Linked DNA regions of Homo sapiens: all the other regions are linked to region 1. Evidence: promoter capture Hi-C in 16 types of primary human blood cells and fetal thymus (Javierre and others, 2016). All regions are on one chromosome and are shown on one strand. Each heading gives the region's core, a stretch centred on a gene start or on the middle of the fragment in contact. The rest is flanking DNA. Distances are from core to core; before and after follow the strand shown. Region 1 holds the start of KRTAP1-4 (keratin associated protein 1-4). Region 2 holds the start of KRT15 (keratin 15). Region 3 has its middle 4.9 kb from the start of KRT32. Region 4 has its middle 11 kb from the start of KRT32. Region 5 has its middle 5.9 kb from the start of KRT37. Region 6 overlaps LOC100505782 (a long non-coding RNA gene). Region 7 has its middle 4.5 kb from the start of KRT33B.

What was found. The method cuts DNA at HindIII sites, captures the fragments that hold promoters and counts their contacts. A CHiCAGO score of 5 or more calls a contact.
Region 2: a contact is called between the fragment with the promoter of KRT15 here and the fragment with the promoter of KRTAP1-4 in region 1, in 3 of 17 cell types (non-activated CD4 T cells, naive CD8 T cells and total CD8 T cells). The highest score is 5.6, in non-activated CD4 T cells.
Region 3: a contact is called between a fragment that was not itself captured here and the fragment with the promoter of KRTAP1-4 in region 1, in 1 of 17 cell types (naive CD4 T cells). The highest score is 5.8, in naive CD4 T cells.
Region 4: a fragment that was not itself captured here is called in contact with the fragment with the promoter of KRTAP1-4 in region 1 in 1 of 17 cell types (total CD8 T cells); the score reaches 5.3 in total CD8 T cells.
Region 5: a fragment that was not itself captured here is called in contact with the fragment with the promoter of KRTAP1-4 in region 1 in 1 of 17 cell types (non-activated CD4 T cells); the score reaches 6.2 in non-activated CD4 T cells.
Region 6: a contact is called between a fragment that was not itself captured here and the fragment with the promoter of KRTAP1-4 in region 1, in 1 of 17 cell types (total B cells). The highest score is 5.6, in total B cells.
Region 7: a fragment that was not itself captured here is called in contact with the fragment with the promoter of KRTAP1-4 in region 1 in 1 of 17 cell types (total B cells); the score reaches 6.1 in total B cells.

Annotation. Positions count from the first base shown.
Region 1 is chr17:41,028,012-41,032,325 of GRCh38, reverse strand. KRTAP1-4 (keratin associated protein 1-4) reads left to right here and starts at 2,131. Exons shown (of 1, transcript NM_001257305.2): 1 at 2,131-2,975. The coding sequence starts at 2,248. The coding sequence ends at 2,613. RefSeq lists an enhancer at 2,492-3,041. The HindIII fragment of the contact is 2,506 bases long and covers 975-3,480 here.
Region 2 is chr17:41,517,279-41,521,592 of GRCh38, reverse strand. It overlaps KRT15 (keratin 15), which reads left to right and starts at 2,703. Exons shown (of 8, transcript NM_002275.4): 1 at 2,703-3,263. The coding sequence starts at 2,766. RefSeq lists enhancers at 1-250, 1,364-2,363, 4,068-4,314. The HindIII fragment of the contact is 23,808 bases long and covers 1-4,314 here.
Region 3 is chr17:41,470,136-41,474,449 of GRCh38, reverse strand. No RefSeq gene overlaps it. Among named protein-coding and RNA genes, the nearest start is that of KRT32, 4.9 kb to the right of the region's middle. The HindIII fragment of the contact is 4,488 bases long and covers 267-4,314 here.
Region 4 is chr17:41,453,822-41,458,135 of GRCh38, reverse strand. No RefSeq gene overlaps it. Among named protein-coding and RNA genes, the nearest start is that of KRT32, 11 kb to the left of the region's middle. The HindIII fragment of the contact is 2,084 bases long and covers 1,157-3,240 here.
Region 5 is chr17:41,428,374-41,432,687 of GRCh38, reverse strand. No RefSeq gene overlaps it. Among named protein-coding and RNA genes, the nearest start is that of KRT37, 5.9 kb to the right of the region's middle. The HindIII fragment of the contact is 2,088 bases long and covers 1,525-3,612 here.
Region 6 is chr17:41,405,145-41,409,458 of GRCh38, reverse strand. It overlaps LOC100505782 (a long non-coding RNA gene), which reads right to left. Exons shown (of 3, transcript NR_040111.1): 2 at 1-1,038. It also overlaps the pseudogene KRT41P. Among named protein-coding and RNA genes, the nearest start is that of KRT31, 9.7 kb to the right of the region's middle. The HindIII fragment of the contact is 3,030 bases long and covers 928-3,957 here.
Region 7 is chr17:41,372,171-41,376,484 of GRCh38, reverse strand. No RefSeq gene overlaps it. Among named protein-coding and RNA genes, the nearest start is that of KRT33B, 4.5 kb to the right of the region's middle. The HindIII fragment of the contact is 4,497 bases long and covers 1-4,314 here.

The DNA.
Region 1 (4,314 bases), core at 882-3,381:
ACCACCATTCTACTTTCTACTTCCATGAATTCAACTTTTTCTTTTTTTTGAGGTTTTTTTGTTTTTATTATACTTTAAGTTCTAGGGTACATGTGCACAACTTGCAGGTTTGTTGCATATGTATACATGTGCCATGTTGGTGTGCTGCACCCAATAACTTGTCATTTACATTAAGTTCCACTTGTAAGTGAGAAAGTGCAATATTAGTCTTTTTCTTTGTCTGACTTATTTCACTTAGTATAATGTTCTCAAGTTTAATCTGTTGCCCCAAATAGCAGGATTTCCTTCTTTTATGACCAATAATATTCCAGTGTGTGAGTGTGTGTGTGTGTATGTGTGTGTGTATCACATTTTCTTTATCCACTCATTTAATGATGGACATGGACACTTAGGTTGCTTCCATATCTTGGCTATTGTGAGTAATGCTGCAATGAACATGGGAATGCAGATGTCTCTTCAAAATACTGATTTACTTTCCTTCGGGTATATACACAGAAGTGGGATTGCTTGATTATATGACAGTTCTATTTTTAATTTTCTGATGAACCTTCATATTGTTTTCCATAATGGCTGTACTAATTTACATTTCCACCAACAGTGTGCCAGAGTTCTCTTTTCTCCACTTCCTCTCCAACACTTGCTATCTTTTGTCTTTTTGATAATAACTATCTAATATGTGTGAGACGATATCTCATTGTGGTTTCAATTTGCATTATCCGATGATTGGTGATTTTGAAAATTTTTCATATACCTGTTGGCAATTTGTAGATTTTTTTTGAGAAATGTCTATTTAGATTTTTTGCCCATTTTTCAATTACGTTATTTGTTTTCTTACTACAGGTATTGAGTTGTTTGAGTTTCCTCTATACTTTGGATATTAACCCTTTATCAGATATGTGGTTTATAAATATTTTCTCCCATTCAGCGGTTTGCGTCTTCACTCAGTTTAGTGTTTTATTGGCTGTGCAGAAGCTTTTTAGTTTGATGTAATCCCACTTGTCTATTTTTGCTGATGCTTTTGGATTCATGTTCACAATATCACAATATTGGCCAGGCAAAAGTCATGGAGTTTCCTCTGTTTTCTTCTTATAGTTTTATCATTTTGAGTCTTTCTTACATTTCAGTCTTTTAATCCATTCTAAGTTGGTTTTTGTATATAATGTGAGACAATGGTCTAATTTCATTTCTTCTGAATGTGAATGTGGTCAAATGATTTTCAACAAGGGTGACAAGACTATTTACAAATGGTTAAGATGGTTAATGTAAATGGTTCATAAATTTTATGGTATGTATATTTTACCACAATTAAAAATTTGTAACTATAAACATGTGTAGGAGACCCAAACTTTTCTGAAATAGAAGATATATATGTATATATGCTGGTTTATATTTGCAGAAGCAAGGATAAAGGTGTCAAAGAATGTGCACCAAATTCTTAATATTGATTACCTCTAGAGCATTAGTTTTGGAAGAGATGTGTGCATCTTCCAGGAAGGGAAAAGACACTAATTTTTCTTTATATACCTCTGTACTCTTTGACTTGTTACAATGTGTACTCATTACTAGCACATATGTTTAATTTAATAGAGTCAGAAAACAATCTACAAGCAAAAGTCATTAAAGATTTTAGTTAGCAATTTGTACATTCACTATTACTGAAGGCAAGAATATTAGATAGAGCTCTGAGGATCCTATAACTTGCACAAATTGATCATAGAAAGGCATACTTGGTTTGAAAGTTGATACATCAGGTTGTAGTTCATGTTTTGATGACACTAATGTTAGTCTTTCCAAGTCTGGACAAATTGTTTATAAAATCATGATCATAGTTAAGTGACCATTTAAGGAAAAATGATCAGTTAAGATAAATTCTGCCTAAAGGTTATCAAAGGACAACTATGACAAAACGTGCCAGGGCGACACTTGGCTCAAGGCTAGTCTGTCATGTGACTTGCATAAAGAGGCACTTCGGTGCTTGGCTTCCATGATGAGCCTTCACTTCGCCCAGAGGGCAAAGAAGAAACATAATGAGACTTAATTGTACAATGGAAAAAGGCTATTGAAATGCTATTTATAACTTTATAAACACCTCAGGTATTAGCCAGAGACTCACACTGAAATTGACATCAAGAAAAGGTGTTGGGTAAATATGCAGCTCTAGGGAACATATCAAAGGACAGATATAGAAGGTACAGCCCAAACTCAGAAACCTCTCTTAACACAGCTCTCAACCCAACTCCTGACACCATGGCCAGCTGTTCCACCAGTGGGACCTGTGGCTCCAGCTGCTGCCAGCCAAGCTGCTGTGAAACTAGCTGCTGCCAGCCAAGCTGCTGCCAGACCAGCTCCTGCGGAACCGGCTGTGGCATTGGTGGTGGCATTGGCTATGGCCAGGAGGGCAGCGGTGGATCTGTGAGCACCCGTATCAGGTGGTGCCACCCAGATTGCCACGTGGAGGGCACCTGCCTGCCCCCCTGCTACCTGGTAAGCTGCACACCCCCATCCTGCTGCCAGCTGCACCACGCCGAGGCCTCCTGCTGCCGCCCGTCCTACTGTGGACAGTCCTGCTGCCGCCCAGCCTGCTGCTGCCACTGCTGTGAGCCCACCTGCTAAAAGCCAGGTTGCTGATCGCTTAAGAATGAAAGGGGAAGCACAGCAAAATTGTGCTGATTTCTGAAGAACTGTTCGATTTTACTTGGATGCTAAGTACCATGATGTTGTTAAGCTGCTCAGAGATAATGAAACTCCTAGTTAGGACACTGTGGATGTGCCGAATTCACTTACTGAAAGATGTATCAATCAGTGTTCTGGATAGCTTGCGTTGCTTGAGCAGAGGACCAGGATGGAATAGTTCATCATTTCAGTGACATCTCTGCTCCCCCAACTCTCTCTTGATGCTCATGCATCTTCAGACCTGGTTTTTCCTTGAATATCTCTGATTAATCCAAATAAAATGTTTTAATGTGCAAAGCAAACTGAGTTATGTCCTCCTTCTACCTTTAAACATGTCTTCTTGTAGCTGGTATTCAAGAGTGGATTTGCAATTTGATAATAATACCAAGGCATAACCATAAAGTCTAAACCAGAAAGATTAAATACAAAGTAAATTATGCTTGAATCCATCAGCTTAAAAATGCTCCATGAATTAAAGAATTTTTATAGTTCAAATATTTACATGCTCTAATCTATTATGATTAGGTCTAGACCAATAAAGGTTGACCTTTAGCTAAAATGTTAAGGTTGATCAAAGCTATTGATTTCTATCTAAATGTAATTCTACCATCTTTTGTCTCCTTCCATTTAATATACTAAATGTTCTCCTTCATTTATGCCCCAAAATCTAAAGAAATTGCATTACCTTCTAAATAGATTTAAAAATAGCTACTAGATACTACCTATTTTCCAAGAGAATTTAGGTTTAATTTCTACACCTTAGCCTTTCACATTCTTCCCACTGATCCTTGAATTGCTCTCTAAGCTTCAACTCCCACTATTCACCTTCATTTGATGTACGTATGCATAAGGTGTATCTTTGGTCTAAATGATAGTAGAAGAAACAGCTATAGAGAGCACCCGCTGAGTTCTACCATTGCCATTTGTCAGACAGAAGTGTTAGAAATCTGAAACAGCTCGATTATATTTTGCACTTTGCAACCCAACTTAAAAGATATTCTCTTAAGAAGTTAACACGCTGGACACGGTGGCTTACGCCTGTAATCCCAGCACTTTGGGAGGCTGAGATGGGTGGATCACGAGGTCAGGAGATTGAGACCATCCTGACTAATATGGTGAAACCCAGTCTTTACTAAAAATACAAAAAAAAAATTAGTCAGGTGTGGTCGTGGGTGCCTGCAGTCCCAGCTACTTGGGAGGCTGAGGCAGGAGTATGGCGTGAACCTGGGAGGCAGAGCTTGCAGTGAGCCAAGATCACGCCACTGCACTCCAGCCTGGGCAACAAGCAAGACTCTGTCTCAAAAAAAAAAATTAACACAACCTAGAACAAAACAAAACATATTTTACCATTTAATTTTTAAATTCTTCATTAGGCATTAGAGTGTAATACACAAAATACAATAGGATGCAAATATAGAAAGAAACACGTTTTCCACATTATTTACAAGCTCCCAGAACTTACCTCTATATTTAATTGGTAGCAATGATGGATTACACACAAAATTATGCAATTTCCAAGAGGAATAAAGTAGATGGCAGTACATTTTTCAAAGTGTCATAACTCCTAGATATTTTTTCCCGAGCCCGGTTCCACTACTAAATCCAAAAAATAAAATAAAATAAACCAAAAAACACATTTCC
Region 2 (4,314 bases), core at 1,454-3,953, 490 kb before region 1:
TTCATTCTCCTTGTGCCCTCAAATGCTCACTATGGCCCTGAGGGGAGTCTGTGTTAATGGCCTAAGTTTAAATCAGGAACCAGGCTCAGAGAGGCTGAGTCTCTTTCCACTGGGCTGCACTGCCTCATTCTAAGGAGAAAAGGCCAGCTCCACAGATGGCCCCATCTGGCTGCAGTGGGCAAAGGTCAGAAACTGGCACAGCATCCTGGGCAGGCTGCCTGGGGCAGGGCCCGGGGCTACAGCCTGGGCTGGGGCCAGACAGAGCTTTATCTTCGCAAGGCCATCCCACCTGGTGCTAATGAGGAGGCTCCGGGCCCCACCCAGATCTGGAGCTCACAGTAGCGGTTTGGACTGAAACCAGGGATTTGTGCGTGGGGCAGTGAGGGGGGCAGCTGCCGCCCCTGGCCTGGGCCTGAGAGTATAGAGAAAGCCACCTCGAGGGGCTGCTGGAGGAGAGTCAGGTGCAGAAGGGGATCTGGCTGGGGTCCAGCCCTTCCTCACCCTGGGGTGAAAGGCGAGTAATTGTTCTTGAGTTAATTGCTGGGGCCACAATGTCTGCAGAGGCTTTTAATGAGCTCTGGATGATCTGAGTTTGATTATTTTTCTTTCGGAGGAAAAGACAATACCCTCCCACCCATGAGACAATACCACACTGTCTGTGCCCAGCATTGGAGGCCAGGCTCACTGCGAAGATGGATGAGAAGGAACCCACCCCCAGCCTTGCTGGCTGGCAGTTCCCCTTGCCAGCCCAGCTCAGATGCAGGAATTTGGGGTCTGCAGGAAGGACTCTTTCCCTGTGCCCTGTTTGGTTGAGGGTGTGAGGACCTGTTTGAGTCCTGGCTTTGCCCCTTACCAGTGGTGCCACCTGGCACAAGTTGCTTCACCTCTCCAAGTTTCAATTTCATTCTTTCTGAATCTTGGGTGGGGGTCACCCTCTGTTGTGAGGATGAGAGGAGGTGATGGATGCAAAAGTGCTTTGTAAATCACAAAGTGCAGGGTAGAAGTAAAGGATTATGCTATTATAGCAAAATAAGAACCTAAGAACAACCTGCGTTGCCCCATAGGAGCTGGCTATGGAAGGTCGATGCCGTTGAGCCTAAGAACATGCTCAGGCTCACAGGGCATGTTCTGATGCCCAACGACAAAGCCCCTCCTGGTGAGGGCACTCAGGCGCAGGTGCCGGTCATGCACCCTGGCCCCTGCATGTCTGGCACCTGGGTGGGGATCCAGGAGGGGGCAGGATGGGGGCTCTTGGGCCACAGGGCTTCCCTGGAAGTGAGAGTTGAGAGCGCCCCTTGCCACAGGGAAACAGAGACTTAAAAAGGTAAATGTCCACAGTCTTACCATGGTAATTGGTAGGGTCAGGATTTGAACCCAGGCCTCACAGTCTTACCATGATAATTGATAAAGCCAGGATTCAAACCCGGGCCTGAGGGACTCCAGAGCCCTGTCCACTTCACCATGCTGCAACCTGGGCTAGGAATCCTCCTCCTGAGTTTCTGTAAGCCCTGGGGCCAGGTCCAGAGGGCTGAGCCACACCTCCAAGTGGCACTGCCCACAGGTATCAGGTGTCCCTGGAAAGGTGTCCCTGAGCTGGTGGCAGAGAAAAGGGCTCTCCTGAGTGTTCAACTCCCCGTCTGTGTGAAGCAATGCCTTGGTCTTCAAGATCTCCGGTGTCTTCCAGCCTGCCTGCCAGTCTCCCTTCTCTTCCCTTCCACAGCATTCAGGCACATAGAGCCTTCTGCAGCGGCCCGTCCCCAGCCAGCACTTGACAGGACAGATGGGGGCTAATCTGGCCCTGCTAAGCAGCGACATGCCTCTCCTGGAGAAGGCAGGGGCTTCCTGGAACTTGCCCCAGCCTTATCAGCGGAGGTTTGCCCCAACACATCCCAGAAACGAGCAAAGGTTCAGCGCCGTGCAGTTGGCAGGTGTCGGGATCATCAGTCATCCCCTTGTCAGTCCCAAGCCTGCTGGGCTTTTGTGAGGGTGCCAGGAACACAGGCTGGAGGATGGCAGGAGGGGAGTAGAGGTGGGAGGAGGGGAGTCCATCTGCAGCACCAGGTAAGGGGATGGATGCTGGCTCCTCTGGTCACCTCAGCTGGAACACTACTCAAGGTCCCTGGCTCCTGTCCTCCACCTGCCCCCAGGGGCCCTGCATTCCCATCCCCAGGGCCTCCACTCTCCCTGAGCCCTGCAGTCTCTCACTCACTCACTCACTCACTCATTCACTCACTCACTCACTCACAGGGTTTTGAGTTGGATAACACAGCATAATGATCGGCCAGTGGACTCCCAAACTAAGAACACGGAGCTGTCCTCTTGGGGAGAGGCTCAGGGCTCGGGGAAGTGAAGTCCAGCTGAGGGCACAGTTGGCCTGAGCTGCTCTCAGTACAGGCAGAGGCCTTGGTAGCTGTGCTGTGATGAGAGTTCGCTCCCTGCTGCTCTCTTCTGGCATGGAGAGATGAACCTGTAATCCAAGTGTTAAAACCGTGCCCTGGGGAAAAACACTATTAATTCTGAATCATCTCTTTTGTTGCATTAAAAAAAAATAGAAGAGAAAAACTTCACATGACCCACTCAAGGTGTGCAGGCAGCTGTGTTTGTCAGGAAGGCAGAAGGAGTTGGCTTTGCTTTAGGGGAGGAGACGAGGTCCCACAACACCCTCTGAAGGGTATATAAGGAGCCCCAGCGTGCAGCCTGGCCTGGTACCTCCTGCCAGCATCTCTTGGGTTTGCTGAGAACTCACGGGCTCCAGCTACCTGGCCATGACCACCACATTTCTGCAAACTTCTTCCTCCACCTTTGGGGGTGGCTCAACCCGAGGGGGTTCCCTCCTGGCTGGGGGAGGTGGCTTTGGTGGGGGGAGTCTCTCTGGGGGAGGTGGAAGCCGAAGTATCTCAGCTTCTTCTGCTAGGTTTGTCTCTTCAGGGTCAGGAGGAGGATATGGGGGTGGCATGAGGGTCTGTGGCTTTGGTGGAGGGGCTGGTAGTGTTTTCGGTGGAGGCTTTGGAGGGGGCGTTGGTGGGGGTTTTGGTGGTGGCTTTGGTGGTGGCGATGGTGGTCTCCTCTCTGGCAATGAGAAAATTACCATGCAGAACCTCAATGACCGCCTGGCCTCCTACCTGGACAAGGTACGTGCCCTGGAGGAGGCCAATGCTGACCTGGAGGTGAAGATCCATGACTGGTACCAGAAGCAGACCCCAACCAGCCCAGAATGCGACTACAGCCAATACTTCAAGACCATTGAAGAGCTCCGGGACAAGGTGAGTCCTCGGATGTCAAAGAGAGGGGAGCAGGTGGCTGGTACCCTGTACACAGCTCTAATGTCAGTGTTACTGCTGACTCAAGGAAATCCTTTCCTGCCCAGGCAATGACTGTCTGGTATGTAATCTCAGCAAATTTGGAATGCACCTGCTGTCCAGGTGCAGAGGCCAGTGCACATCTTCTCAACTTGGTGGTGCTGGGGGAGGGAGAGAGGGGTCTTGGGAATCTGGTTAGGACCAACAGGGGCACAGGTGGGGGCAATTATAAAGAGCCAGAGGCAGTAGCTCACACCTGTAATCCCAGTGCTTTGGGGGGCCAAGGTGATAGGATTGCTCGTGTCCAGGATTTAGAGGCTGCAGTGAGCTATGACTGTGCCACTGCACTCCGGCCTAGGTGACAGAGTGGAACCTGTATCTAATTAAATAAAAATAATTAAAAAAAAAGAGCAACTCGCCCTCCCTACCTCATGCACCCTGCAGGCTTCTGCATAAAGTATTCCTTTACCTCTTTTGCAAGAATGGGATTGGAGTGTGGCCTCATGAGTTCCAGATGCTAGAACCTCTTGTCTTTTCCTATAAAGAGGTCTTTTGTGCCAAAAGTACTGTTGGGTCTTAGGAGACCTGGGAACTCATTACACATTCTGCCACCCACTCACTCACCATTTTACTCCCTAAGACTGGGTTCCTCATTCGTAAAATGCCTTCTTAACTGCCCTCCAGGTTGCTACTGGCTGGAATGTTCTGTAGATCCATGGCTGTGTCCAAGGTGTGCAGGAGGCAGTGACCATGAGTTGTCCACAGTGGGGCTGGTGGAGTGTCTCTGAGAGAGCTATTGTCAGAGCTGGCTGCACCCCACTGCCCCACTCTCCTGGGCAACCAATTCCCACAGGCAATACTGCCTCCTTGGTCTTTCGTGCCCTGGAGATAAGGAAGGCAGCTCCTCAGGTGTCTCAAGGAGGCTGGATGGGACAAAACAAGAAATGGACACTGAAAGTGAGGCTGGACTTTGCCCACCCCAGAAGCCGTACAGATTTTTGTTGGTGGTGTCAGA
Region 3 (4,314 bases), core at 1,261-3,760, 440 kb before region 1:
CAAATTTTTGAACTGCATTTTAAATTTGTTATATTTTTTTCTCCAAAAAGTCATTTTTTTTCTCTGTTTGCTCCTGTTTTATAACATTTAGTTCTTGTTTCATGGCTATAACTGCTATATGTATATACATCTCTCCCACTCTGAGGTTATTTAAAAAATATATATATATACAGTTTTGGATTCTGCATTATTTCTGTTTTCTTCAATTTCCTTTTTTACTGTTTTGTTTGTTTGCTTGTTTTACTTTGTCTTTAATATTGGAAGCTTCCTTCAAGTATCTGGTCATCCTTTTGTTTATATTTTATGACGAGACACTAAAAAGCTGATAGAAGGTGCTACGTGGATGGGCAGGTTGGAAAACCGGCTTTTTGCATGGTACAACCACCTCAGTTCAGTTTCTGTAAGTCTTTTCTCTGGAGTTTTATTTTTTTTCCAAAGAAGGAGCCTCTGGTTTTCTGCGGGGGAATGAATGGAGGGAGACAGTGCTGGCCCAGGCTGTGACACACATCCTATCTGCTTTTGTTGAAACAGGCCCTTCCTCCTGGATTCTTTGCATCCCTTTCTCTTCTCTTCCTAAACTTATTTTCCTGATAGTTTGCTCTGGCCCCAGAGAGGTTGGGGTACAGTGGAAAGTCTTTGGATCAGCCAGACCTGGGCCTGAGAACTGACAGTGCCCCACTTTCTCTGTGGCTACCTTTCCTAGACCCTACTTCTCCATCTTCACGACATACCCCAGATCTGGCATATTGCCTGGAACTGTGGTCTTCTGTGACTTTGGATGCTGCTGCTACTACCTTTATCAATCCGCTCTTTTTTTTTTTTTGAGACGGAGTCTCGCTCTGTGGCCCAGGCTGGAGTACACTGGCGCAATCTCGGCTCACTGCAAGCTCTTCCTCCCGGGTTCACGCCATTCTCCTGCCTCAGCCTCCCAAGTAGCTGGGACTACAGGTGCTCGCCACCAAGCCCAGCTAATTTTTTTGCATTTTTAGTAGAGACGGGGTTTCACCGTGTTAGCCAGGATGGTCTTGATCTCCTGACCTCGTGATCTGCCCGCCTGGGCATCCCAAAGTGCTGGGATTATAGGTGTGAGCCACTGCACCTGGCCTCAATCTGCTTTTATATGAAACCTGGTCTTTCCTTCACAACGGAAAACTCTGCTCACGCTGGCATTTGGGACTGCACCTCACAGCGACAGCCTCTCAGCATCATCCTGGAGCCCCTGCTCCTGGTTCCTGTCTCTCTCCTCCTCATTCCTTCCTTCCAGGATTGTCCTGTGAACTTCAAATCCTTCTCTCCTTTCACCCTCTGATGTCTTACCAGCCAAATCAAGGCATTAGGGTCCCACCTTTTAACCCAAGATCTTCTTAATGTAGTTTCCCAAGTAAAGACATTTTTTTTCCTGCAAGATGAATTCTGGTGACAGCTGTTAAAATATATGCAGGCACACTTCGATTTATTGAGTTTCAATTTATTATACTTCCCAGATATCGTTTTTTTTTCTTTTTTCTTTCTTTTTTTTTTTTTTTTTTTACAAATTAAAGTTTTGTGCCAATCCTGCCTAGAGCAAGTCTGTTGGTGCTAATTTTTCCAACAGCATGTGCTTATGTGTCTCTGTGTCACATTTTGGTAATTCTCACAATACAAATTTTTTCTTTTTCTTTTTTTTTGAGACAGAATCTGGCTGTCTGCCCAGGCTGGAGTGCAGTGGCGTGATCTCGGCTCACTGCAACCTCTGCCTCCTGGGTTCAAGCAATTCTCGTGCCTCAGCCTCCCAAGTAGCTGGGATTACAGGCACACCACGCCTGGCTAATTTTTGTAATTTCAGTAGAGATGGGGTTTCGTCATGTTGGCCAGGCTGGTCTCGAACTCTTGACCTCAAGTGATCTGCCCACCTCAGCCTCCCAAAGTGCTGGGATTACAGGTGTGAGCCACTGCGGCTGGCCAAACTTTTTCATTATTGTATGTGTTATGGTGATCTGTGGTCAGTAATCTTTGATATTACTGTTGTAATTGTTCTGGGATGCACCAAACCATGCCCAGATAAGATGGGGAACCTAACTGATAAACGTTGCGTGCGTTCTGATGGCTCCACCAACTGGCCATTCCCCCATCTCTCTCCCTATTTTGGGTCTACCTATTTTCTGAGACACAGCAATATTGAAATTAGGCCAATTAATAACCCTACCGTGGCTTCTAAGAGTTCAAGTGAAAGGAAAAGTTGCAGGTTTCTCCCTTTAAATAAAAAGCTAGAAATGATGAAGTTTAGGGAGGCGGCATCTTTCATAGCTAGACAGGAGGAGTCTGCCTTCAAAACCTTCAAAGGATGGGCTGACTCTCTTGCTAGGAGCTAATGCAGCTGATGACTTCAAGTGGGAAGTCAATGCTCATTTACCATTCTGAATATCCTAGGGCACTTAAGAATGATGCTAAATCTTTTCTGCCTGTGCACTACAAACGGAACGACAAAGCCTGGACGACAGTGCATCTGTTTATAACATGGTTTACTGAATATTTTAAGCCCACTGTTGAGACCTACTGCTTAGAATAAAAGGTTTCTTTCAAAATATTTCTGCTCATTGACAATGCATCTGATCACCCAAGAGCCCTGATGGAGCTGTCCAAGGAGATTAATGTTTTTGTGTTTGCCAACACAACATCCATTCCACAGCCCATGGATCAAAAACTAATTTTGACTTTCAAGTCTTATTACCTAAGAAATATATTTCATAAGGCTATAGCTGCCATACAGAGTGATTCCTCTGATGGATCTGGGCAAAGTAAATTGAAAACCTTCTGAAGAGGATTCACTATTCTATATGTCAATATTTGTGATTCAAGAGAGGAGGTCAAAATATCAACATTAACAGGAGTTTGGAAGAAGTTGATTCCAACTCTCATGTATGATGTTGAGGGGCTTAAGACTTCAGCAGAGGAAGTAACTATAGATGTGTTGGAAACAGCAAGAGAATTAAAATTAGAATTGGAGCCTGAAGATGTGACTGAATTGTTGCCATGTTATGGCAAAACGAACGGATGAGGAACTGCTTCTTATTCATGAACAAAGAAAGTGGTTTCTTGAGATGGAAACTACTCCTGGTGAAGATGCTGTGAACATCACTGAAATGGCAACAAAGGATTTGGAATACTACATCAATTTAGTTAATAAGGCAGTGGCAGGGTTTGAGAGGACTGACCCTAGTTTTGAAAGAATTTCTACTGTTAAAATGCTATCAAACAGCATCACATGCTACAGGGAAATCTTTCATGAAAGGAAGAGTCAACTGATGCGGCAAACTTCACTGATGTCTCATTTTCAGAAATTGCCACAGCCACACTAACTTGCAGCAATCATCACCCTGATCAGTCCTCAGCCATCAACATTGAGGCAAGACCTTCCACCAGCAAAAAGATTATAACTTGCTGAAGGCTCAGATGATCCTTAGCATTTTTAGCAATAAAGCATTTTTAAAATTAAGTTATATACATTGTTTTTAGGCCATAATGCTATGGTACACTTAATAGACTATAGTATAGTGTAAATATAATGTTTACATACACAGAAAAACCAAAAAGTTTGTGTGACTCACTTTATGGTTACATTTGCTTTATTGTGGTGGTCTAGAACTGAACATGCACTATCTCTGAGGTATGCCTGTATCTTCCTCTATCTCAGTGGGTCTCCAAACCACCTGAAGGACATGCTAAACACAGGCTGCTGCATCCCAGCCCCAGCCTCAGAGTTTCTGATTCAGCCAGTCTGGGATGAGCCTGAAAAACTGCATTTCTTTTTTTTTTACATTTTATTTTTATTTTTATCAAAGCAGTGTATCTACATTGTTTAAATAAAACAACATTAAATAGCAAATATTTAAAAACTGCAACATCTATGCCTTCTTTCTTTCTTTATTGTTATTATACTTTAAGTTTTAGGGTACATGTGCACAATGTGCAGGTTAGTTACATATGTATACATGTGCCATGCTGGTGTGCTGCACCCACTAACTCGTCATCTAGCATTAGGTATATCTCCCAATGCTATCTCTCCCCCGTCCCCCCACCCCACAACAAATGAGAACACATGGACACAGGAAGGGGAACATCACACTCTTTTTTTTAAAAATTTTACTTTAAGTTCTGGGATGCATTTGCAGAATGTGCAGGTTTGTTGCATAGGTATACATGTGCCATGGTGGTTTGCTGCACCTATCAACCCATCATCTAGGTTTTAAGCCCCGCATGCATTAGGTATTTGTTCTAATGCTCTCTCTCCCCTTGCCCCCCATCCCCCGACAGGCCCTGGTGTGTGATGTTCCC
Region 4 (4,314 bases), core at 949-3,448, 430 kb before region 1:
GTTTCTATTAAGTATCCTCCCTCTGGCCTTGCCAAGAAATGATGAAAAATGGATTGGATCCTGAAGCTGCCTGCAGGCTGCTCTCCAGACATGATCCTGCAGGCATCCCTGGCAGACAAGGTCATTAGCCTGACAGCAGGGACATGAACATACTGCTTAGCAAGCTGTGGTTCCTGGTTGATGGATGGGTAAAATTTCAAGGAGCTGAAATGCCAAGAGAGAGGGGTTCTGGCTAATTGAATTTTCTCATAACTGCGTGCAAACCAGCAATCTTTAATTTCAACCCCGGTGCAAAACTTTTCTGGAATGTGCTCAGCTTGATAAACAACACACAGAACAGACCAAAGCTTTGGTTCTATAATCCTAGACCTGTTCTGTCCAATATGGTAGTTCATAACGACATGTGGCTGCATATACTGAAACATTCGGTATATGAATGTTTCATATACTGAATTGCACTGAGTTGCACTCGTCACACGTGGCTAAGTGGTAGTAAATAAGACAACACAGACATGGACTATTTCCAACACTGCAGAAAGTTCTACTGGACAGAGCTGTCTTAGACTGTCAGAACTAGAAGGAGCCTTCCAGATGATCTGGCTCAGCTTTCCCAGTTTTACAGAAGAGTCATCTCAGACCCAGGGAGGTGGACAGATGTGCTCACAGACACAACCAACAGGTGGAAATTGAAGCCAAGGGTTTTGACGCCAAGCCTCTTAGGTCTCTCCAAGCACTTTATGCTTTCTCCAAGCACCCTAGGTTTATTATTATTTCAGGCTAATACATATTTCCCCTCTCCTTTTCTTTCATTTCCCAAAGAAGGGAGACATTTTCTCTGAGAAGCTGAAACTTCTTCCTGGGAATATAGTTCTCTTAAAAAGCATCGCTAGCAACTACCAGACTCAGCATCTCCTCTTTCTTTGAGCACTGGGCTCAGTAAGAGCAAAGACCTTGAGCTGCAGCCCAGAGCCTCAGCAGGAATGATTGCACAGGAGTTGTGGGCCAGAAGTCCTGGACCCTGGACCCCCTGGGGACTTCCAGAGTCTCCGTTTCCCCAGTGCATATTGTTTCAGTCCAACTCGGTCCCCATTCCCACACCTGTGTGTCTCTCCCACTTGCCAAGACCTGTCTGACTCCCAAGATGACTGTTAAAGCTTTTTATATGAAACCAAGCCCCACAGCCCAGGGCCAGGAGTACCCTCCTCTGCTAGAAGTGAGGCCCATCATCTTCTGTGTCTGGATGGTACTTCAAGCCAGAGGTGTCACGAGCTACCCTCCTGCCTAGCCTGTCTCTTATTTGATGGATGAAGAAGCCGTGGGCATAGACTTTGGGAGATATTTATCCCCCACCAGCACCGGAATCTCCTGGGAACTGGACTCAGTGTACCACTCATGGAGATTCTCAGAGGAACTCTCTCCTCATATCAAAGCATTTGCATCTAATTAACTCTTTATAGGGGAAGAGTTTATAGGGAAATGTAGGCAGGACCCTGGTCAAGTCATAAAACCTCTGTCATATTTGATGTTTTGGAGAAACCCTCACAGGTATCAGGGATCCTCTCTGAGCGGGATTGGAAAAGAAAAGGGTGTGCTTTTTAAAGACACCACTTTCCCCAAGGCTATTCAAGAGTTTGGGCCTCACCCCTGCTGCTCACTGCCCTAGTGCAAAGCACCCTCTTCTGGGGGTGAGAGTGAGGGCCCATGGGCAGAACTGCCATTCAAGGAAGACTGGCCAGAGGGCGACAGCTTCCCGAAAGATCCAGGAGTTGGGTTTGGCATCTGGGAGTTGGGGCTGTGTGTGGACTCTGAATTGCACTGACTGAATCTTTCTTCACCACTATATTAGGAAACCTTTTAGAGAGTGATCAAAAAAAGAATATGCCTCTTCCAGGGTATAACCAGGAAAATCATTAATAATAAAACAATATTCTTTTTGTATTTCATAATTTTTTTTTCTTTTGGAGAGAGAGTCTCGCCCCGTAGCCCAGGCTGGAGTGCAGTGGCATGATCTTGGCTCACTGCAACCTCTGCCTCCTGGGTTCAAGTGATTCTTGTGCCTCAGCCTCCTGAGTAGCTAGGACCACAGGCACATGCCACCATGCCTGGCTAATTTTTGTATTTTTAGTAGAAATGGGGTTTCACCATGTTGGCCAGGCTGGTCTCGAACTCTTGACCTCAGGTGATTCACCCACCTTGGCCTTCCAAACTGCTGGGATTACAGGCGTGAGCCACTGCACCCGGCCTGTATTTCATAAAATGTAACACTTGAATGCAATGATATCAATTCGGCTAAACAGAAAGTTCCTAAGATCATTTGATGTCTATCTTTTTGCCCAACTGATCAAGACAAATTTGTATTTAAATAGCAGTGTCCCTTAATCATAATATGTAAACAAAGTCACCAATGAGCATCTAGGATTAATGGAGAAGATCAGTGCCTTTGGCTTCAGAAAAACTGGGCTAGACCCCCAGTTCTGCTGCTAATGTGCTGTGTGATTTTGGCAGAACTCTTAATCTCTATGCATCTCAGTCTTCTCCCCTTTAGAAATGGGAGTAATTCTACCTTTTTCACAGAGTTGTTGGGATATAGTACATATAAAAATGCCTGTCATGATGCCTGGCATATTGTAGGTGCCTGATGAATGTTGAGTAAAGAAAACATGCTTTGGCAACAAATTTCTCTTCTCTTCTGACTTTCCCCAATTACAATGGCAGCTGAGTCATATTTTGGAGCCATTCTGAAGCCCAAGTTTCAGAAACAACAACAGCAGCAGCAGCAGCAGCAACAACAACATATGGGTAGCTTTGCTTTGCTCTAAGAGCATTGGATGAACTTCCAGTCTTGGTGTAAATGCCCTGGTAGAGTGAAGGCCCTGGTGTCTGAGGCTCAGCGTCCAGTCCTGGAGTTCACCATCCATTCCCAGGTGCCCTCCCTCTGCCCAGCCCTCTGGCTCCAGAGCGGACTGAAGGTCTCCCACATGCTTAAGGGGTCCAATTTTTAAGCCTCATTCACTGTGCTGTGTGAAGCAGGGATGGCAACTACAGCTCACAGGTCAAACCCCACTGCTACTTGTTTTGGTAAATCAAGTTTTATTGGAGCATAGCCACACCCATTCATTTCCCTGTTGTCTATGTCTGCTTTGTGCTACAATGGCAGAGCTAAGTAGTTGCAGTACAAAGAGAGTATACGACTTGCAAAGCCTAAAATATTTAGCATCTGTCTTTTTAACAGAAAAAGCTTGTCCATCTTGGTGCAGAGGAAACAGAATGTGCTAGGGGCCCTGGGACCAGTCCTGGCTCTGTATCTGACTTGCTTGGCATCCCTGGGGAGCTCACTGTCCTTCTCTGGTCTCTGAAGCACGAAAGGTTGAATTAGTACTTGGAAGTTTTCTTTAGTTCTAATAACTTAGCAGTCTTTGCTCTATTGCTCTTTAGGGATTCCTGAGGCTCTTATCAGAGAATTTTACTTTTTTGGGTATTGAAGGTCAGTGGAGAGGACGATTCATCTTAGAGCCAATGCCATTCCTAGAGAGAGGCCAGATAGTCACTCAAGGAACAAAGTCTAACTTTTCAATGGGGCATCTCTAAAGAGAAAACATTTAACATTTCTTTTCACAACAGAAGGCAGTAACAAGAAGTCCAAAGTCAGCCCTTTCTTTCATAAAGTGGGGAGCTACTTCTGAGGACTGAATAACTGCTGATGGGTTGTTCTGATGGCAGAACAAATGAGGATTCATTGGGGGAAAGCTTGTGTATCACATCTGCTCCTATGGCAGGTGAATAAAAGCTCTGGGTGAGGAAACACTCACACCTGAGCACCTGGCCCTTGTCACCAATCTGCAACTCAACTGTCTAGGACCATGGCTTCTAGTTAAAGCAGAAATCCCTGCTCCTCAAGCTTTGGCAAGAGCCATTTGAAGCCTCCTTGCTCCAGACAGGCTGTGGCCAGAAACCACTCTAGAAACTCTGTACCCAATGTCTGTAGATCCCAGTATTAAGACTGGGGCCCACCTGTAAGAGAGTCACCAACCTAGTAGCCATCTCCTTAGAACCTGTGGCTCACAGTCAGTCCAGCCTGGCCCTGCCAGCAGTCACTCTGCCTGTCCTCTGCCAGGGACCAGGAACATCCCTGCCAGTATGGGCACCTGTGGCTGGTTCAGTGAAGACATCCTCAGCAGCAGTGGGAAAGGGATCATGCAGTTCTTAAGTGAGTGCCTGGCCAACTGCTTGCAGAAGTTGCAGCAGTTGGAGCAGGAGAATGAGAAGCAGGGGTGGTGCTGAGAGCCAGCAGTGGAGCAAACGGCAGTGCCCTGA
Region 5 (4,314 bases), core at 1,319-3,818, 400 kb before region 1:
GTGGGCATGGTGGCTCACACCTGTTATCCCAGCACTTTGGGAGGCCGAGGCGGGTGGATCATGAGGTCAGGAGATCGAGACCATCCAGGCCAACATGGTGAAACCTCGTCTCTACAAAAAACACAAAAATTAGCTGGGCATGGTGGCATGTGCTTGTAGTCCTAGCTACTCAGGAGGCTGAGGCAGGAGAATTGCTTGAACCCGGGAGGTGGAGGTTGCAGTGAGCTGAGATCATGCCACTGCATCCTAGCCTGGCAATATAGTGAGATTCCGTCTCAAAAAAAAAAAAAAAAAAGCATTTGTAATTTTAACAGATACTGCTGAACTATTTTGTAAAGAGGTTGCACAACTTATTCTTCCCCTCAACAGTGTATGAAAGTGCATGTTTTCTTTATTTTGCTACAATCATGACATTAATCTATTTTGTTTTATTTTACTTTATCATAGAAAGAACACCTAACATGAGAGCTACCCTCTTAATAAAATTTTAGGTGTACAATAAATTACTATGGACTCTGGGTACAATGCAGTACAGTAGATCTCTAGGCCTTACACATCTTGCTTGACTGGAACTTTATGTTCATTGAACAGTAACTTTCCATTTCCCCTTTTCCCACAGCCTCTGGAAACCACCATTCCACTCTTTGATTCTATGAATTTGCCTATTTTAAATACCTTGTATAAGCAGAATTATGCAGTATTTGTCTTTCTGTGATCGGCTTATTTCATTTAGCATAATGTCTTCAGGGTTGAATCTATTTTAGATACCTCATATAAGCAGAATCATGCAGTATTTGTCTTTCTGTGATTGGCTTATTTTATTTAGCATAACGTCTTCGAGGTTTATTCACGTTGCGTATTGCAGAATTTCGTCCTTTTTAAAGGCTGAATGGAATTCCAGTGTTTGCACATACCAATTTCTTTTTGTATTTATCTGTCAACGGACATTTAGGTAGTTTCCACATTCTGGCTATTGTGACTCCTGCTGCAATGACCACAGGAGTGTTAACATCTCTTTGAGATCCCAATTTCAATTCTTTTGGATAAATACCCTGAAGTGAGATTGTTGGCTCATATGGTAATTCTATTTTTAATTCTTTGAGGAATCTCCATACTGTTTTCCATAGTGGCTGCGTCATTTTGCATTTTCCCAACAGCGTGCAATGGTTCCAGCTCCTCTATATCCTCACCAATACTAGTTGTCTTTTTTTTTTTTTGATAGTAGCCATCCTGAGTGGTGTGAAGTGATGTCTCATGGCTTTGATCTGCATTTCCCTTATGGCTAGTGACTTTGAGCATTTTTTCATATACCTGATGGCCGTTTGTACGTCTACTTTAGAGAAATGTCTATAGAAATCCTTAGCCCATTTTTAAATTAAAAAAAATTATTTTTTACAGTTGAGTTGTAGGACTTCCTTATATATTTTGGAGGCTAACCCTTTATCAGATATATGATTTACAATTCTTTCTCCCATTCAGTAGGTTGTATTTTCACTCTGTTGTTTCTTTTGCTGTGCAAAAGCTTTTTAGTAAGACTAAACTTCTGATCTTTGCTAACTTAAATAAGTAAAAAATAAGTAATTTAATAAGCATTTTTGAATTATGAATGGTGTAAGCATGTAAACACACCAGTAACAGTAAAATCCATTAAAAAACACAACACTTATTTAGTGCTTACCATGTACTCTGTGCTAGACACTATTTTACGTGATTTACAGGTATGGATTTTTTTAAAACTTAAATCCATTAGCTAGGTGCTATTGTCACTCCATTGTGCATAAGCAGAATTTGAGGCACAGAGAGGTCAAGTCACCAGCCCAAGTTCACACAGCTAATAAATGATAGAACCAGAATCTGAACCCAGGCAGGCTGGATCCAAAATTCATTGTCTTAAACCTCTACTATGCTGCATTAAAGGATTTTGTAATAGGTCTTGGTATGAGGTAAATAAGGGGAAATTTCCTGCCTTAGCATGTAGATAAAGAAACTCTAGGATCAGGGAACAAAGGGGAGGGGAAATGAAGATAACTTTTTCAGTATTTAGTCTCTGATGACCTTAAGACCTGGGATAAGAATAAAGCAAACTAGGCAGGGCGCTGTGGCTCACTCCTGTAATCCCAGCACTTTGGGAGGCCGAGGTGGGTGGATCACCTGAGGTCAGGAGTCGGAGACCAGCCTGGCTAACATGGTGAAACTCCATCTCTGCTAAAAATACAAAAAATTAGCCGGACGTGGTGGCGTACGCCTGTAATCCCAGCTATTCAGGAGGCGGAGGCAGGAGAATCTCTTGAATCCAGGAGACGGAGGTTGCAGTGAGCCAAGATCAGACCACTGCTCTCCAGCTTGGGCAACAAGAGCAAAACTCCATCTAAAAAGAAAAGAAAAACAAAAAAAGAATAAAGCAGAATAATAATTTAAAAATACTTAAAATCAAACCAAAGTTTCCCAAGTAACTAGATTTTAAAATCCTATTTAATAGAAAAGAAAACGGTGACTTTTTTTTTTTTTTCAAAGCCTTCTGAGGTGGACTTTTGAAATGATAAAGGTGTTTTGGGTTATCCTTCCTCAGACTCTGTTTTCACCCAGCATGTCTGAGAGCCTTGCAGGCACAGTGGTATCAGGACACACTGCTGGTCGTGGTTTGCAGATGTTTTCCTGGCGTAATTCACATCAGGATGCAGTGTGTGGGCAGCTCCTGTTTCCTTAGGTGTCTTCAGAATTTTTCCTCTGCAGCTGGAGCAGGTGGTTGCAGATTAGACTCACACCCTGTGGACCGCCCAGTGCCTCTGCTTCTGTCTCACTCAGAGATGCGTCAGAACGGTCAGACTCAGAGATGCGTCTGCACCGTGGCACCAAGTGATGCTGTTCTGAACCCAGTGTTTCCCCTCTGCCTGAAGAGAGATTACAGCTCAAAATCTTTTAATCCTCAAGAGAGAAGAGGTGGCCCCTGTGAAGGAAGGAGGGCTGCAGGACTACCTCTGTCTTCTCTCTTCATCTCTGATACCTCCCTTCATGCAACTTGGAATATATGTTTATTTTCAGGGGCCAGAAACTCTTTTTAAAGAGGAGCAAGAGGGCCGGGCACGGTGGCTCATGCCTGTAATCCCAGCACTTTGGGAGGCTGAGGTGGGTGGATCACGAGGTCAGGAGTTCAAGACCAGTCTGGCCAACATGGTGAAACCCCATCTCTACTAAAAATACAAAAATTAGCTGGGTGTGGTGGCGGGTGCCTGTAATCCCAGCTACTAAGGAGGCTGAGGCAGGAGAATCGTTTGAACCCGGGAGGTGGAGGTCGTAGTGAGCCGAGATCATGCCATTGCATTGCATTGCACTGCAGCCTGGGTAATAGGGCGAGACTCTGTCTCAAAAAAAAAAAAAAAAGGGAGGAAGAGGAGGCTCATCTGATCATCTGCAATGTCAAGGATGGGCTCCTTCCCACCTACACAGCTGAGTACATCCCAGACACCTGCCTCATGCCTTCCACCTACTGCCTGTTCCTTTGAGACCAAAGAAAATCAGAAGAGCCCTCTGCTGTACGAAGGACTAGGCAGTGTCTATGTCATTATGCAAAATGGACCATGCAGAGCCCAAGCCAGAGACACATATCAAGCTTTGGAGAGGTGTGTCAGGACGCAAAGGATGCAAAGCTTCAGCTGTGATGCTTAAGAATTAACAAGTGTCATATGTTCTGAGACAGAAGGAACCATGATTTTAGCCAATGGGATAAAATCCTGCCAGAGGATAGGGTCAAGAGAGGGTTCCTATTTAGCAAATCAAAGGGAAGAATTTTAATGCTTCAATTCTCTGGATTATAGTGATGCTATGTGTTGAGGCGGAAGATAGGAACAAAGGGGTCTTTGAAGATGGAAAATGCAGATTGCACCCAGAGGCCTCTGAGGGATGGCCTGGCAGGGAGAGGCCCTCTAAGGATTGCCCCAGTAAAGAATGAGTCATAGCTGACCTCAGGGCCGCTGGAGCCACAGCTGACCCACAGTGGGTTTTCCTCTTGGGAAGAATTCCAGACCCCTTATTTCTCCTTGAGAGAATTCCAAGAGCCCAGGTTTCATCAACACCATCATCCCCTGACTCCCTTGTGGTTTTCACGGGGATGCATGTTCAACTTTTTCTCAGAGCAAAGATGTATTTATGCTGTTTAAAAATATATGCACACAGTTTTATGTATAATGTGGCATCATAACTTGTAGGGCATTTACTCTTATTTTATACATTCAGATATGTTTGGTTTTTTTTTTGAAACACTTCTTAAGGCTACACAACAGGACAGAGAAAAATAAACAGGAACATATTCAACAA
Region 6 (4,314 bases), core at 1,193-3,692, 380 kb before region 1:
CCTTTCTTGAAGCAATTTCCTGTGAAACTGTTGCCTTAATAAGGATATGTTTCTGTGCTGCAGCTTGATTAATTTGTGAGTGCTGATAATTCATAGCAGAAATCATGCTCCATAGCCTAAGATGAAAACATGTGAAAGTCAAAGGGTTGACACCACCTGAGGAGGGTCTACCCTGGGTGCTGGAAGGGCATTGTGTTTTATCATCTTTCTTCGGGGCACTGTGCAAGTCTCACTCTTCTAGAGCTAAAGAAAGCCATTTCCTTCCTCTCATGCTGGCAATGTGGCTTTTACTCTAATAGGGAATCCAGGGTCCCTTTGGGTATGGGGCTTGTAGAGAGGGGCCTGCAGTGATTGCACTGTGTTGCAAATGCCTGGTTACTTTGCCACCTCCCTTTTGGGCCATTGTGTGTAAAGGCAGGTGCTGGCTGTGTGTCCATCACAGTATCCTCAGTACCAGCTGCTCCCCTTGGTTCATCTCAGGTGCTTAGTATTGACTGAGTGGGGAACATCCTGTTGCTTTCTGGGCTTTGAGCACACTACACAGGATAAGCCAACTCACAATTAGATGGCAAAGGGCAGGCCAGTGGACTTACAGCTGCGAGCTGGGAGTCATGTCCTGGTGCCCCTTCCTGCCCTCTAACTGTCACTCCTGCACTTTCCCTGTTACAGGTACGAGAGAGAGCGCTCGCTGCAACAGCTGGTGGAGGCTGACATCTGTGGCCTGCGCAGGGTGCTAGACAACCTCACCCTCGCCAAGTGTGACCTGGAGGCCCAGCTGGAGTCCCTGAAGGAGGAGCTGCTTTGCCTCAAGAAGAACCATGAGCAGGTGTGTGACCCTTGGTGTGATGCATTGAGACTTTCTGGAGGTGAATTCAGGCTCATCTGGGGGGAAAAAACGGAGGCTTCCTTCTGCTTGGGATTGAAGCTTTGCAGGTGAGCTCTGGCTTTTGGTGGGAGATTGCTTCTCATCCACAGCTTCTGGAAGCTGCTAGGCTGGTGCAGGCAGCGGTTTATCTTCAGAGGAGCACAGGGAAATTACTGGGGAGGATGGAAAGTGGGAGTTGAGAGTTTGGGTGAAGGGCAGTTGGGGGCCCTGCAGGCGGGTCATACTCCTCTGATGCCTACAGGAAGCCCACACTCTAAGGGGTCAGCTGGGAGACAAGCTCCGGATAGAGCTGGACATTGAGCCCACCATTGACCTGAGTAGAGTTCTGGGGGAGACGTGAGGCCAGTACGAGGCCATGGTGGAGACCAATCGCCAGGATGTGGAGCAGTGGTTCCAAGCCCAGGTGAGGGGGACTGCTAAGCAGTGGGGATTGGCCTCCATCTGGGCAGGTAGGTGACCATGTTTCTCTATGCTCCAGTCTGAAGGCATCAGCCTGCAGGCCATGTCCTGCTCTGAGGAGCTGCAGTGCTGCCAGTCAGAGATCCTGGAGTTGAGACGCTCGGTGAACGCCCTGGAGGTGGAGCTTCAGGCTCAGCACACACTGGTGAGTCCCTCTGCACGCATGGGAGACCCAGCTTGGCTCCCACTACCCATGAGTAGCTCTCTGGGGTCAGTACAGGCCTCGAATACCAACCACGGACTCAGCTTAAACCTTGGTTTCAACTCTTTTGGAAGCACTTCCCTGTAGATGTGGATGCTGAGTGAATCAACATTAACTTAGGTCAGAGGGCTCTGATCTTAAAGGTCTACCATGAAGTGTGTTAGTTATTCTGGCTGAAGACAGCTAAAGGGAGTTAGATTGCTCTCTGGACCTGGCAATGTCTTGGGGTGTCACAATCTTAAGAGGTTGGAGATCCATGATTTTTAACTTGCTTCCTCCTTTCTTTGATATTATAGAAGGACTGTCTACAGAACTCCCTGTGTGAAGCCGAGGACCGCTACCGCACAGAGCTGGCCCAGATGCAGAGCCTCATCAACAATGTGGAGGAACAGCTGTCTGAGATCCGGGCTGACCTGGAGCGGCAGAACCAGGAGTACCAGGTGCTGCTGGATGTGAAGGCCCGGCTGCAGAATGAGATTGCCACATACCGGAACCTTCTGGAGAGTGAGGACTGCAAGTACGTACCCTGTTGTCTATGTCAACACCGTGTGCAAAAACAGATAACTTCTCTTGGGAATGACCTAAAAGGAGCTCTGGAGGCCAGGTGGGGGTGGCATTGCAGATCCCATCTTTGGAGACAAACTTGCTACCACTAGGCCTGGTGAGCTAATGCCTGCCTAGGCGTAGGTGAGGGTGTACAGGAGTTTTCAGGTCATGGCATTTGTTTTGCTGACCACGTTGTGCTCCCAGTTGCTGGCTACTCCCATAGAGGGCTAAAATACTGAATGCCCAGCACATTCAGGTTTTGCTAAATTCTCTCCAGGAGAAGTATTCCAATAACGAGTATTCTTTGTGCTCATAGCATTTAAAGTATTGCTAAGGGCATGTGCACTGACTCTTTCATTTTAGTTCCACAATAGCCCTGTGAAAAGCATCAGAGGGCTGATATACCCCTTTAAGCACTAAGGAACACTATGAGGGGCTGTGTTTAAATGGAATCAGTGGCTGACATCTGGACCATTCTTGTTCCTCTGGCCTTTCTGCCTTTCTCTCTGCTGTGTTCCTTCCATATGGGACGTGACCCTGGCCTGGCACACAGGTACACTGAGTTCTGGCCCCAGCTCCACTGTGGACTGTGGGCACGTCATTGCCCCTTTCAGGCTTAGAGGGACCTCTAAGGTCTAAGGTCCTCTTTTGCACTTTAATTCTAAAGTGTCTATAATATACTTTTGTCTTTCACATACTTCTCATGCCAATGTTTCAAACACCTTTTTTCTCTATGCAGATTTCCCTGCAACCCGTGTGCAACCCCAGCCTTCAGCACTCCTAGTCCAGCCCCTGCAGCCTGCGCCCCCTGCTCCCGGGCCACCCATGGGCCCTGCTCATCAACTGGATACTGACACACTCCTCAGCCCGAGGTGCTGGGAAAGGGGAGGTGTCTTCAGCTCGTTAGGCTTTGCTCTGCAGGCCTGCTAACCTGGGCCTTGCCTCCCTGGCCAGCCAGGCAGGAGACTGAAGAGAGACAGTGCCACTCTGTGGATAGGTGTTTGAATCCAGCAGCTCAGCCCCTATGGCTGGATTTGTTTCTTCCCCTCAAGGTGTCCCAAGTGCTCCATTTTCTCTCTTCTGTTGCCTCCTGATCTCTCTGAGATGGGGCAGGCACTTTTGTTTTTATTTTGCTATTAAACTTCGCTTCTGCAGCAGAATGAGCCCAGTGCAGTCCAGCCTCAGCATCTCCGTCCCATGCTGAGAGCCTTGCTGGGAACTCCTTGAGCCACATGCTTCTGTAGACGGGGGTTGTGGCTGGCTCGCCAGAGTGGTTCTGGGAGATGGCAAAGCCAGTGAAGGCTAGAGTTAAAAATGGGACTGCGGCAAAGTGGCACAGAGGAGAGATACCCAACCTTGGACCTCACCAAGTGTATTTGGAGACAGATTTACAGATAGAGCTTTTAAAATATAGACGCTAAGTAAAATTTCCCTTTTATCTGGATAAGCCACCTGGTCCTTGTGTAAAGGAAGAGCTCAAATCTGCGGCACCACAGACCGTTGCAAAACTCTGAAAATATTAACTGATGGTAATCGCCATCAGTCTAGAAAGGCCCAAACAACCTGACCCGTCCAAGCTCCCCAGTAAGCTCCACTGGTAAGTCCTGGCAGCTGTCTGGCTTGGAATTTGTAGACAGTAGAACATGAATCAGAAGCCCCAGAACAGGTAACTTAAATTGAGCTTTTAGGATGACATGCCCATTATGAACAAGGCACTGGCTGGGGCTTCGCCGACATTGTGTCACAGGGCACCACATCAGCCCTGCAAAGAAGAAGCAGCTGTTATTATTCTCAGTTGGTTACTGAGTCAAGACTTGAAACCTAGTCTCTTTGAACCAGATCCAAAGCCCGTTCTTTGGAAGCTTTGAGGGGGAAACAAATTAAACATGAGAAGGTTTAGGACAGTGGTTCTTAAAGCGTGGTCCGCCAGCAGGTAGCACTGGCATTACCTGAGAACTTGCTAGACATGCACATTCTTGAGCACCACCCCTGACTTACTGAACCAGCATTCTGCTTTAGCATGACTTGCAGGTGATTCTGATGTTGGTTCAAGTTTGAGAAACACTGGGTTAGGAAGTTTATTTGAGGAATGAGCCCTTGACTAGCTAGACCCTCTACAGAAAGGGCTGGCCTTGCCGTCCTGATATGTCCTCCAGTGAGGAATCCCTCATACCATCAGATCAGGATAGAGCCTTTCTCTTTTACATTGCAAAACTCTGAA
Region 7 (4,314 bases), core at 847-3,346, 340 kb before region 1:
TACAGTTTAGAGTGGATGAGACAAAGCTACAGTCATCATAGACAAATATCAGTGTGGCTCAAGAAAGGTGCAGATAAAGAATTACGAATTTCAGATGTGTGAGAGAATGAAAAGAAGAGGCTCCAAGAAGGAGGGAGCACTCAATCAAAGCCTTGAAAACCCAAATGTTCTGTTGATATAAATTTTGTCTGCCTGTCTTGTTGACTGCAGGCCCTTCAGCAGAGGCAATATCATCACCTAATTAAAGACGATGTAAACCATGGAATACTGTAAGTGGAATAAATAAGGAAGAGTAACACTAATGAAAATTCATGAGAAGGTTATTAAAACTTTATATACTTCCCATAGTTTCAACTTCAATCAATGATTACTGTATGATATTAGCATAATTCTGAAATAAAGTTTGCTGGGAAATGTCTGGTCAGGTGAGTGTGTTTAGGCCATAGAAGAGGGAAAGTTTTGGCCAGGTGCAGTGGCTCACGCCTGTAATCCCAGCACTTTGGGAGGCTGAGGCAGGTGGATCACGAGGTCAGGAGATTGAGACCATCCTGGCTAACACGGTGAAACCCCATCTGTATTGAAAATACAAAAAAAAAAAAAAAAAAAAATTAGCCAGGCATGGTGGCACACACCTGTAGTCCCAGCTACTCAGGAGGCTGAGGCAGGGGAATAGCTTGAACCCAGGAGGCGGAGGTTGCAGTGAGCCAAGATCGTGCCACTGCACTCCAGCCTGGATGATAGAGTGAGACTCTGTCTCAAAAAAAAAAAAGAAGAGGGAAAGTTTTCCTGAGCATGAACTTTGCCTGGAGGAGTTATGAGGTGTGTTTAGAAATTGACAACCCAATCCCTAGCCTAGAACAGAGGGTAAGTGTGGTTATAGGAGATGAAACTGCAAGGTAGTTAGGTACGGCCATATTTGGAAGTGCTCCGAATGATTATACATGAGATTTTCTTGTAAGGGAGTTTGCCATATGATATATCTGGCAGCTGTGTACAGGTTGGGTTGTGAGGAGTCCTAGAAGCTGGATGAAATAGAAGGAAGATCAATTAAGAGGTGAGAGACAATAAGGACTGAGATAAGTGGAGGAGAGTGAGGCCAAAGAGGGGTAGGTTTTAGAGGCATGGCTTAAATATGGAAGCTGAGTAGAGATAGAGGAACAATGGAAAGAAAAGGAAGGAAACTAGTACTGATCACACACTGTATTAGGGTTATCCAGAGAAACAGAAACAGTAGGCTATGTATAGATACATAGAAAGAGATTTATTATAAGGAATTAGCTTATATGATTATGGAGGCTGAGAAGTTTCATAATCTGCTGTCTTCAAGGTGGAGGCCCAGGAAAGCCAGTGGTATAATTCCAATCCAAACCCAAAGGACTGAGAATCAGGAAGGCTGGTGGTGTAAGTCCTGGTTTGAGACTGAAGGCTCAAGAACTGGGAGCATTGATGTTAGAGGGCAGGAGAAGATGGATGTCCCAGCTCAACTCTATTCCCATTGGGAGTGCAGGACTGAGTGTAAGAGAAACAGTGATGGCTCTGGAGAGGGTTTGTGGAACTAGATCCCGAGTTCCGTTTTGAGGTGTCCGTGTCTGTCTTTGCTCAGCATAGCTTACTACTGACCTGGCCTATTCTCCAGACCCTCTCCTGCTTCTCCCTTACCGGTCAATGAGAGAAATAATTTGCCTTTCTTCTACTTTTTGGTTCTATTTGACTACCCACATTGGAGGACACCTGCCCACATTGGTGAGGGTGATCTTTACTCACTCTCCTGATTCAAATGCTGATCTCTTTTAGAAACACCTTTACACACATACCCAGAAATAATGTTTTACCAGCTATCTGGGCATCCCTTGGCCCAGTCAAGTTGATACATTAAATTAACCATCACAAACACCTACTATGGGTCTGAAGATTTTCAGCCTGAGAAAATGAAACAACAATGAGTTTCCATTGGAGAGACCTGGAGAAGAATAACTAGATTTGAGGGAGATGTCGGAGAGCTGGGTAAATAAAGATGATAATTAGAGCTATAGGAATTGTTAAGACTGTCCAATGGAGGCTAGCAGGGAATAGAAGAACCTTGAGGACCACTGATAGAAACCACAGACTTCAGCTGGGGCTCTCCAAAGTCCCTGATGTGAGGTTCAGCCTTGGTTTTGCCAGATCTTGAGGACAGAGATGACATCTGGTTGCAAGCAGTTTGAGAGGGAAGTGGAGAAGCACCTTAAAGGACACAGAAGTCAAAAGAAGTTGGAGCTCTAATGAAAGAGTTGTCAACAGCATCCAGGGCAAGGATGGTGAGAATCAGACAAATCTACTGGTTAAAGCAATGGGGAGACTCCTGGTGATTATAAAGAGAACAGAGTCTGTGGGAGGCTGAGGGAAGAAGCTGTATTTCCATGTTTTTTTCATGTCTGTCTCAAATCACCAACGTGATAGTGAGTGTAATGCAAAAGTTCAACACAACACATTTGTACTCAGCTGACTTTGCTTTATCTTCTGTGTACTGTCAAAAGGTTTTAGCATCTGCCCTCTCCCTTGATCTGCAGAGCAGGACACATATATAGGTTTTCATTCCATCTCTGAGTGGGCCCTGGATCCAGCTTTTTCAGGAAGACTAGCACCATTAAATTACATCGTCCTGGATTGTGTCATGCTCTTGTCTATTCTAGACTGAGTTGATAGTCTAGAGTAGTCAAAAACATAGCATAGATCTCGTGGGAGCTGAATGATGAGAACACGTGGACATATAGAGGGGAACAACACACACTGGAGCCTTCTGGAGGGTAGAGGGTGGGAGGAGGGAGAGGATCAGGAAAAATAACTAATGGGTACTAGGCTTAATACCTGGGTGATGAAATAATCTGTAAAACAAACTCCCATGACACAAGTTTATCTATGTAACAAACCTGCACTTGTATCCCTCAACTTAAAATAAAAGTTAAAAAAAAACACATAGCATAGATGAACTTTGTATTTTTCTGACTTGGCTTGGTCCCTGAAGACTCCAAGACTCCATTCCCATTGGGAGTCCAAGACTGAGTGTAAGAGAAACATGGTGGCTCTGGAGAGGATTTGTAGAACTACCTCCTGAGTTCCATTTTGAGGTGTTTGTATCTGTTTTTGCTCAGCGTAGCTTACTGCTGACCTGGCTCATTCTTCAGCCCCTCTCCTGCTTGTCCCTTATCAGAAGCCCCATTGAACAGGGCCAAACTTGTTGGCTTATTTCCTGAATTACCCCTTCAATTTCTCCTCTCAATGTCCTGAGGCTGGAGGATTGATAAATTGACAACAGTTGCCTTTATGGAACAGTTTGTGGAAGCCCTATCTTCTGCTCTTCTAGGAAGCTCTAACAGGCTGGCCCAAAACCATGGGCTGGGGTTGTTATTGGACAGTCTTTCTGCTTTTCTAATTCCCCTCTGGGATCCCTCTTTGGCAAAAAGTCCATCTTCTTGCTCTGTGTGCATGTAGTGATACTGCTCCTGGCCTCTCCTTCTCATTTGTACATATTAAAATATAATTAATTTTCAAGTAGCCCAATGTAACTTCGTATTTCTAAAAGAATAAATTTTACATTTCTCACGGTGACAATTTCAAGCACCAGAGCCTGGACATTGGAGAAGATGGCTTTGGGAAGAAGGAGGGAGGCCTCCTAATGCCTTTGAAGTCCCACAATGAGGAAGGTGGCCTCAGCAGAAGCCCCATCCTATGTCCACTCCGTGGTTAAGCATCGCTGGTGGGTTGGCATGTGATCTCTTCTATGGAAATAGCCCGGGCTTCCATAATAAATAGCATCCTTAAACCTCAACTGCAATTTGCTCACATCTTAAGACCAGAAGCCTCAACCATAGCATCTGCCGCTATTACATGGGCATGTATAAAACCTTTCGGTTTGTTAGGATTTGACTTACTTGTCATGTTTAATGAAGGGCCATTGAACAGAGACAATAGCATCACCCATGTAAAGATAAGAATTCACAGTACACAGCAAGTGGAGTAAGTAAAAAGCAATTGCCTTCCAGACTTTGTGAGAAGCTAATTGAAACTTGGCTCTTTTCTCCATAGACCCAAGTTCTTCCAACTATTAGTACATAATGGCCAAGTAGCTGTGCAGAAATTATAGTTACTTCTACTCAAGATGTGGGAATAGTTGTGTTTTCTAAACTCTGACCTCCACTTTTAAAGACACAAGGATACTTATCTCTGGATTATTCCACTGTGACTGAGGTAGAAGCTACAGCAATGGTTATAGGGATCCCTGTGGACATATTTACCAGTCTGTGACACACTATTCCTTCCCTTTTCTTTAAAAAG